Linked DNA regions of Homo sapiens: regions 1 and 2 are each linked to region 3. The links are contacts of gene promoters, found by promoter capture Hi-C in blood cells and fetal thymus (Javierre and others, 2016). All regions are on one chromosome and are shown on one strand. Each heading gives the region's core, a stretch centred on a gene start or on the middle of the fragment in contact. The rest is flanking DNA. Distances are from core to core; before and after follow the strand shown. Region 1 overlaps SMG6 (SMG6 nonsense mediated mRNA decay factor). Region 2 overlaps LOC284009 (a long non-coding RNA gene). Region 3 holds the start of MIR22HG (MIR22 host gene).

Evidence for each region. The method cuts DNA at HindIII sites, captures the fragments that hold promoters and counts their contacts. A CHiCAGO score of 5 or more calls a contact.
Region 1: a contact is called between a fragment that was not itself captured here and the fragment with the promoter of MIR22HG in region 3, in 4 of 17 cell types (naive CD4 T cells, naive CD8 T cells, total CD4 T cells and 1 more). The highest score is 6.2, in naive CD4 T cells.
Region 2: a fragment that was not itself captured here is called in contact with the fragment with the promoter of MIR22HG in region 3 in 3 of 17 cell types (non-activated CD4 T cells, M2 macrophages and M0 macrophages); the score reaches 5.8 in non-activated CD4 T cells.

What each region holds. Positions count from the first base shown.
Region 1 is chr17:2,259,741-2,262,979 of GRCh38, forward strand. All of the region lies in intron 8 of SMG6 (SMG6 nonsense mediated mRNA decay factor), which reads right to left. Among named protein-coding and RNA genes, the nearest start is that of SMG6, 42 kb to the right of the region's middle. RefSeq lists an enhancer at 1-105. The HindIII fragment of the contact is 2,389 bases long and covers 123-2,511 here.
Region 2 is chr17:2,404,195-2,407,117 of GRCh38, forward strand. LOC284009 (a long non-coding RNA gene) reads right to left here. Exons shown (of 3, transcript NR_028335.1): 3 at 2,787-2,923. Among named protein-coding and RNA genes, the nearest start is that of MNT, 4.6 kb to the left of the region's middle. The HindIII fragment of the contact is 2,381 bases long and covers 245-2,625 here.
Region 3 is chr17:1,714,574-1,717,532 of GRCh38, forward strand. MIR22HG (MIR22 host gene) reads right to left here and starts at 1,637. Exons shown (of 3, transcript NR_028505.2): 1 at 1,557-1,637. It also overlaps a transcript of WDR81 not described here. RefSeq lists an enhancer at 1,784-2,425. The HindIII fragment of the contact is 4,707 bases long and covers 1-2,959 here.

The DNA of each region.
Region 1 (3,239 bases), core at 67-2,566, 540 kb after region 3:
ACAGTCCAGAAAAATATTTGAAAATATAACCTCTCTACCTACCTAACGCCATACAGGAAAACCCCTGAATCTCTCAGGAAAGGGAGGAGCACGAACTAATCTAAGAACCCAAAGGAGAACGAAGCTTCAGTTTAAGATAGATGTGGTCACAAAGACGGTTTCACAAACCACTCTGCTGTGGTTATTTGCCATAAAGCAAATAACCAGCACACAGGGAGCTTTGGCTACCTTGTGCGAGCTTCAGATTTAAGCAAGGCACCAAATAAGGGAAGGATTCTGGCGCATCAACTCCCAGGAAAAGTGTTTCAAGTTAAAAATGGTCATTCAGGTTTGGATGTGAACTTCTGTATCTGCTCTTTATCAACAGAGGCAACTCTACCTCCCTGGCAGCTAGCAGCAGAAAAAGAAGAAAACTGTTAGAATACAAATGGATTACACAAAGACAACAACATGGCCTGCTACAGCCTGGCATTCGCCTTGACACTAAAAACAAGGCTAGAAACACGCATTGCAGATCTTCTGGGATTCCACATCTGAGCTGAACCAAGCATGTCCAGGAGAAGGCAGGCCATGATGTCACTTTCCCCCCCCACAGCCAGATGCTTCAAGATGAAGGCTGTAAACCACAGCACTGTTGGTGAGAGACTCAGTTTCACTGTGACTGGAGGCAAGGCCTGCTTCCAGCTAGTTTTTTTGGTCAATCAAATCTTTTCTGTGCTGGTTCCCAGACCCAAACTCTGTAGTTCAAAAGTCAAAGCAAACACCTCAAATCTTTTATCTTTGATCCAATTCTTTATCTTCCAAATTCTCTCTTCGTCCTCTGTCTCTGAACAATGAAAATCAATCTTAACAAGGATCCACAAAGCAAGGAAAACATGGGCATTAACTTCTTCCTAATTTATTTAAAATGCTCTGTCACTGCTATCATTAAACGTATAGAAAAAAATTTGAGTTTAGAGTTAAAAGGGAAGAGGCCGGGCGCAGTGGCTCATGCCTGTAATCCCAGCACTTTGGGAGGCCGAGGTGGGTGGATCACCTGAGGTCAGGAGTTTGAGACCAGCCTGGCCAAAAATGGCAAAACCCTGTCTCTACTGAAAATACAAAAATTAGCTGGGTGTGATGGCGGGTGCCTGTAATCCCAGCTACTTGAGAGGCTGAGGCAGAAGAATCACTTGAACCCGGGAGGCGGAGGTTGCAGTGAGACGAGATCATGCCATTCCACTCCAGCCTGGGCAACAGGGCAAGACTCTATCTCAAAAATATATTTAAGAAAAAAGAAAAAAAAGTCGGGCGCGGTGGCTCACGCCTGTAATCCCAGCACTTTGGGAGGCCCAGGAGGGCAGATCACGAGGTCAGGAGATCGAGACCATCCTGGCTAACACAGTGAAACCCTTTCTCTACTAAAAATACAAAAAAAAAAAAAATTAGCCAGGTGTGGTGGCGAGCACCTGTAGTCCCAGCTACTCAGGAGGCTGAGGCAGGAGAATCACTTGAACCCGGGAGGCGGAGCTTGCAGTGAGCCAAGATCGCACCACTGCATTCTAGCCTGGGTGACAGAGCGAGACTCCGTCTCAAAAAAAAAAAAAGGGAAGAGAAGAATGACAGCGATACAAGTAAATAAACTGCTGGTTATACAAGTATGCTTACATTGTCACAATTTATCACCTGTATGGCTCTGTTATGTGCACTTTTCTGTGTATATATATTTTTGGAAGATTTCTTTTAACTCTGCAATAATTTTTTAAATTGCCACAACTTTTTCTACTAGTCCACAAAAAGCCTTTGTTTCACAGCCAATAAATACCCTTTGCCCCATATGTCCTAATCCCCACCATTATTCTAACTCTGAGGTGGTAGACATGCAGATGACTGGTGCTATAATAAACAACTTTCTGCTACCCCTCGGTGGACAAAGCTGTGCAGATGTGTTGATGGTGTATGCTATATCCCCAGTGTACGGATGTAAAGACAAGGAAAGAGATTAAAAAATCTGTTCATGCAAACAAAAAGAAATTTAGGAATGCAACCCATAAGATCTCACTCCTGGTCTGCAGTGACCACAAGTGACAGCTTCCTAGGAGCACGAAGGGCACTATTAGTGCCTTATTCAACCTTTTGACATATGTCACTTGCAAGTATTTCAAAAGCCATAGAGTTTTATAGATCTGTCCAGAAGTCTAAAGGAAAACCTGCCAAAGACATTCCTCAGAAGAGAATGTCAAATGTGTTAACATAGTTTGCTTGACAAATTAGGACCTAGCATCTCAGAGATTTGTGGCACAAGTAAACTCAAAATCTCAATAGCAAGAATAAGGTTTTAGCATCTTTATCAAGAAAAAAAATCCCAGAAAAATGTAAATCCATAGCGAGTATTATCACAATTCCTCTTTCCCATACGCATCAGGAGCTGCAGTCCTACTGTGTGTGTGAAAGTCAAGAATAGGACTTAGTGCCAATGATTACAACACAAAGCATAACTTATTCCTAAGCCAAGCTGGGCTTGGCTCAGAAAGCTTCCCAGAATGATGGAAGGCATGACTTTAGAGTGAGTCAACCTTTGCTAATACATAAAATAAAGCAGAGAAAGAACTATTTGAAGGATTCACTTCTAAGCTTGAGCCAAATCAAAAGCTCAAATCTATCTACATTGTGATGAATCTTCAGTTCCAACTGAGTGATCAGACAGCACCAATGTGGACATCTGTACCATGGCCCAAGACATTATAATGACAGAATCTTGGCTGGGAATCTCAGAAGCAACCATTCCTTGCAGTTTCGAACCATGCTATGTTTTTATCCATGTTGTTCCTTCTGCCAGAAAAGTCAGCTGACCACATCTACCTAAAATACTTCTTTGACTTGCAAAATTAAGGACAAAGATTACCTTTCTAGGTCGCTCTACCTGTTCACCCTGAGTTAATCTCTTTTACCTCTGTCCAGTGTATATATTTCTATTATTACATTTATAACACTTTATTGCAAGTATTTATTTACATATCCTTTTTTCTTACTAGACTGTGTTTTTGAGGGAAGGACCAACATCACTTACTTTTCTGTGTGCAGTACCTAGAATAACAATATATAAAGGTGCTCCATGAATATTTATGGAAATGACCTGAATTGGGACAGGGAAAAACTTGATTTCCTCAGAGACTACTAGCTGGCCTCAGAGGAGGTTTTACAGCAAAATGGGCAAGTGAAAAGAGAAAAAATATCTATATAAAACTTTGAAGCCACTT
Region 2 (2,923 bases), core at 185-2,684, 690 kb after region 3:
GGTGGCAGGCGCCTGTAATCCCAGCTACTGGGGGTGGTTAAGGCAGGAGAGTCACTTGAACCCGGGAGGTGGAGGTTGCAGTGAGCTGAGATGACACCACTGCACTCCAGCCTGGGCCACAGAGAGAGACTCCGTCTCCAAAAAAAAAAAAAAAAAAAAAAAAAAAGGGTGGGGGAGGCTGTTTCTGGACCTATTGTTGCCTACAGGAGCCTGAAAATGGCCAAAAACAATACCTCATCAACCAAGCTTTCCCCAGTTGAGGAATGGACAGTGGGGGTGGGAGATACCTATAAATGGCGATGTGAGGGCATGAAAGAAGAGGGGAATGAATAGGAGGGCTGTTTAATATTTTAGCCCCAGCTTCCTGTTCCAAGGGGGTGGAGCCAGGATAGAAGCTGGCAAATGTACTCACTCAAGAGAAAGAGAAATAAGTCCTTTTGGTTTCAGCAGAAAGGTTAGCAGGTTTGGGGAATTATCCAAAGGCCAGCAATCTCTAAAAAGGTGTTCCTTAAGTTTCTTTTTCTTTTTTTCTTTTTTGAGATAGAGTCTCCCTCTGTTGCCCAGGCTGGAGTGCAGTGGTGTGATCTTGGCTCACTGCAACTTCTGCCTCCCAGGTTCAAGTGATTCTCCTGCCTCAGCCTCCGGAGTAGCTGGGATTACAAGCACGCACCACCACGCCCGGCTAATTTTTGTATTTTTAGTAGAGACGGGGTTTCACCATGTTGGCCAGGCTGGTCTCAAACTCCTGACCTCAAGTGATCTGCCTGTCTTGGCCTCCCAAAGGGCTGGGATGACAGGCGTGAGCCACCGCGCCCGGCTGTTCCTTAAGTTTCTTCATGGCTTCTGGGTGCTTAGTACCTTGGAGCAGGAGAAAAGCTGGGCTGTCCATCATTGTGAGTTTCTCACGAGAGGGTTTCCGTTTTCAGTCTTCCTCCCCGAGTCTTGTGCACCCCACCTCCCAGTTCAAATTCCATTATGTCCTCCAATTTTTTAATCTTTTATTCTTTTTTTCACCAACCACAATAAGAAGCACCAATTCCCCAATTTTTTAATATGCTGAGCCAGAGACATCCCCTTAGTGGAACTGTCTTCCTATCCCCCACCACTCACCTAACAAAGTATCAACTCCAAGAGCTATGAAAATCAGTGCCCTGACTCCTACAAAGCCTGAGTCATGAGATGGGGGAAAGGGCGTGAAGCCGAAAGTACAGATGTTCACAGGAAATCCCAACCCTTCAAGCCTGATGTCTCATCTTTTGCAAGCAGCTAAGGAGCTTTTCACATACCATCATTAAAACAAGACCCATGGGAGGAAGCTGGCTGCAGGATGAAGAGGAAAAAACAGAAGACTAGTACACTCAAGACATACCAGAGAAGATCCATTTCATAAATATTTATTGTGTGCCTGAGGTGCCAAGCACTAGGCTAGGTATGCTGTGGCCAAGGCCAGGGGACCTCTGGTAAGCCAGAGCGGGGCAAAAGCAAACAGAGCGGAACTCCACTCCACTGTGATAACTTGCAAAAGATTAGTTCTGCTGTTCGCCACCGTGCTGGATGCAGCACCAGAGACAGGACGACACGAGGACCCAGAGGGCGCCGCCATGCTCATTTCAGAAGGTGCAGCCTCCGTGTCCGTGGGTCCGCACCCATGGAGGCAACTAACCGTGGATCAAAAATATTCAGGAAAAAAAAATGGAAAATATACAAGAAAAAATAATACAAATTTAAAAACCAACACAGCACAAGAACTATTTACACAGCATTTACATGGTATGAGGTATTTGAGTAGCGCAGAGATGAGTTAAAGGATACCTGAGGATGTGCATAGGTTACATGTAAGGGATTTGAGCATCATCCATGGACAGGTATTCAGGGAGGCTCCAGGAACCAATCCCCATTGGACAGTGAGAAGCAACTGTAATTCCGTTTTTCTATGTAGAGATAAAAACAAATTCAGTGGATTTAAGGCTGGGCCAGTCAACTGAGCCTGATTCCCCCAGTCTGAATGATGAGTGGGACTCTGAATTCCTTTGACAGAGGTGGACCCATTCAATCATCAGTGAAATGGGGTCCCCACAGCCAAAAGTTTCCACAGGACTCTTTACCTCCTTTCCCCACCCCAAGTGAGTTGTCAGAGGACCTCTCCTGAACTCACAGAACAGGTCCAATCAAGTTCCACCTCCCCATTCATGTCCTTTCCAGAAGCTGGGCGCGGTGGCTCACGCCCTAAGTTCCAGCTACGTGGGAGGCTGAGACAGGAGAATCGCCTGAGCCCAGGATTTCAAGGCCAGCCTGGGCAACATAGCAAGATACTGTCTCAAAAAAAAAAAAAAAAAAATTGCAGCCTCACATGATGTCATAGCTGGAAGAGCTGGGATCATGGGGTCTGACCTCCCAAGAGAAGGTGTATCCAAGGTCACAAAGCTGCCAAGCATCAGCTAGGTTGAGAAGTGGCCTGGTCCTCCTCTTTGGCTGGCTGGGCCAGGCCTGGGGAAGTGCTATCAGTGTGGGGTGTTGAGTCCCTGAAAGCCTCCCAGAAGTGGGTGAAGATGGAGAGGGAACTCCACCCCTCCTCGTTAAAGACAGGAATAATCATTCACTTTGCTTAGTGGTCCCCAATAAACAAGCTTAGCAGATAAGCGGGAAGACAGGGAAAGGGAATCAGACTTGGGATCCAGGAGCTCGCAGGACCCTGTTCTGCCCCAGGCCACTCAGGAATGGAGAGCTGCTAGCTGGACCTGGGTAGGTCACCATTACTCACTGGGGCTTTTGTCTGGCATGAAAGGTGACGGGAGAAAGGGGCAGATTTTTATCCAGGCAGCCACCGTGGGTGTGGACACTGAGTAATAAGGAAAGAAATGCAGTTCAGAAGCAAAGAGGGAGGAGCCAGGTCCTCTGAGCTCTTCTGAGAAACCAGAGCCCA
Region 3 (2,959 bases), core at 387-2,886:
CAGGGTGGCCGGGGCTGTGAGGGGCGGGCAGGGGACCACAGGCTGGAGGGGAGGGAGGTATGGGCAGGGTGGCTGGGCAGCTTCCCCAGGACTCTCAGATGCCAGGCATTCCGCTTGCGCATTCCGGGTACATCTGGTATGAATTCCAGGCTGTCTGCCGGCCCCTCCATGTCTGAACTTTGTTCCAAGTTCCAAGCCCCGCCCCCACAGTTCCAACGCATGAATCAGCAGGAAAAGCCGGGCCCTGCAGCATGGCCCAGGGAGGGGGCTGGGGGCGTGGCAGGCTCGGGGGATGTGAGCTGGGGAGGGCGGGTCCGTGCTGACACTCAGTCCAAGGGCATGGCCCACGCCAGGCTGAGGGGCCAAGGCGGTCTTGCCTTGGAATTTCTATACTCAGAGGGTAAGAAAGATTGGGGGATACGGGGTGCGGTTCAAATTCCGAAACCCTCTTGGGAGGCATGAACTTTGTGTATCTTCCTTCCCCTGGGTGACCAGTCCAACTCCGTCCGACCTTCCTCTGTCTGAGATAGCTCTGTTCAACCCAGAGGACTCAGCAGCTGCTGAGAGTCTGTGCCAAGCAGGTGCCCTTGGCTGCAGGGCGGGGTGGGCCCAGGGCACTGACCCTCTGACCAGCTGCTCCATCAACCCTCTGGCACTCTGACAGCTCCTAGCCCAATCTGACAGCCAGGATGACAGGCCAAAGGAGTTGGAGGCTGGAACCAGGGCCGGAGGGAGGTGGGGGTGACAGCCTCGCCGGAGGCCATGGGGAGGGGCCAAGAGTTGGCCGAGAGGTGGGGAGAGAGGCAGCCCAGTGATGACTAACCCAGGCGCCCCACCCAGCCAGCCGGCTTCCCAGGCAGTCAGGGCCAGGCCTGGGCTAGGGGCCTCACAATCGGACAGGCTGGGGGGAGGTGCAGAGGTGACCTTCTCTCGGCCCAAGACGGCCAGTTAGTCTGGGGAGCGGGGGTTAGAGTTTCCAGGCCCTCCTCTTGCCCTCTTCCCCCCGCCCAACCACGGTGAAACCCTAACCTTTGGGTTGCATAAGGCCCCGGCACCGCCGCCCCCTACTCCTCTCCCCTCCCCCCTTACATAACATCCCCTGGAGAGAACGAGAGGAGGGGCCGGCCCGCCCAGCGACCCCTTCCCTGCCAGGGCGCTGAACTGGCCCTGACCCAGTGAACGCCGGCAGAGGCAAAGCACCTCCTCGCCGCCCGCTCGGGGGGTCCAGACCCTCCCCAGGCTAGATGGCCGGCCCCTGTATCCTCAGACCGGGGGCCGCCGGGTGAGCCGCCCCCGGCCCTCCGGCCCCTCGGCTCTCCCCCCGCCCCCCGCCACTCCGCCAGCCCTTCCGCCACGACTCCCGTCCCAGACTCTTTCCTCGTAGCTCCTGACACACTAACCCGGCCAGTCCAGGCCCCTCTCCCCGAGGCGCCCCTGCCCCCGCCGCCCCTTCTCCTCCCGGAAGGGCTGGGTGTGGCCGCCCGGACCCCACTTTCACCCTCCATCCCGTTACCGCGGCTCCCCGCTGCGTGACCGGGTCGCCAGCTCACACCCACCTGGTGCTGGGTGTGGGGGTTGCTGCACGAGGGGGAGCAAATCACTGCGTCCGCTCCCCACGGCCGGCGGCGCTGTCTCTTCTCGGCACCCAGCACACACCGGCTCCAGGCTCCGATCAGCTGGCGGCGTCGTGACGCACGAGCTGCGAATGCACGGCCCGGGGCCAATCACCGCCCACTGCTGGGCAACGTGGCCCCGCCCACCCGGGGGCCGACGGGGCCTCGCCCTGGTCCCGCCTCTCCGGGCGCCCTGGCTCTGATTGGCAAGGAGGCCACCCTTTTGCCGGGCGGAATTGCACGAAGCCACGCCCACCCACTGAGGAGCCGGCCAATAGACGGACAGGTGTGGCCCAGCCCTCCGCGTCAGCGACCCGCTTAGAAAAGCGCTACGTCAAACGAGAGTCCTAAAGAGCAGGCGAAAGCCACGGCGTCTGCGTTTGCAATGCATGCTGGTCCGTGTAGTTCTCAGCCTGACACCGTCGTTCCCAGAACCCAGCGCGCTCTGTGAGTTGGCATTTTTAAACTGAGCTCGGAATCCAGCCCGGGGAAGTCCTTAAAGGGCGACAGCCCCTCCTTGTTGGAGTCGTGAGTGCTTCTTTTAGACATTCCCCAAACTGACTCGCCGGCCTCTGCGGGACGCTATAGCTCTTTAAGGAAAGGTGGAGCGGACCAAGGAGCAGGAGTGGGCAGAGCGTCAGCCCCCAGGGCAGCAGAGACTGCCGTTGGAGAGCTCTCCAGGGTTTTTGGAGGAGGGAGGGTGCTCGCCTCGCCCAGCCCACTCCTCCTGGGGGCTCTTCCTAACCACAGGAGGCTTTTTTTCTTGGATGTCTCTTCCCAGTCCCAGAAGAGCCCCCAGAGCCTCCCAAGAGGTAGCTTTCTAACAAAAGATTCATAGCACAGTCCTCACCTTAGGGTAGAGGGAGGGCTTCTGGTCAGAAATTAGGGGATGGGCCATGCCAAAGTGCAAAGGGTCAGCAATCGCATCCTCTGATTAACCCCCATTCAGTCCCGCCCTCCAAAGCTCTTCACTGACTCAGGCCTACTTAGGGAAGAGATTCGAAGGTGGAGACCAATGAGCAGGCTGCTCCTTCCCCAGGGGCCAATCAGAGTCTAGATGAGCGGGGGATGGGCAAAAAGTGAAATGAACCCAGTGACTTGGCAAAAGCTGCTGGTCGGCGTTTTTAAAGGGGCAAGCCGGAGACCTGCCCTACCTTATCAATCCCCGCAAGTCCCCCAAAGAGGAACATGTGGACTGAAATCCATGCCTTTTCCTTCAGCTCCAAATAGGGGCTGAGGGTAACTAAGCAGGAATGATGAGGCTGGAGGGTGAGATCCTTCCTTCTGTTAAATACGCACTCCATCAGGTAATTGATAAGGTTCACTTGGAGCTCCAAAATTCTGAG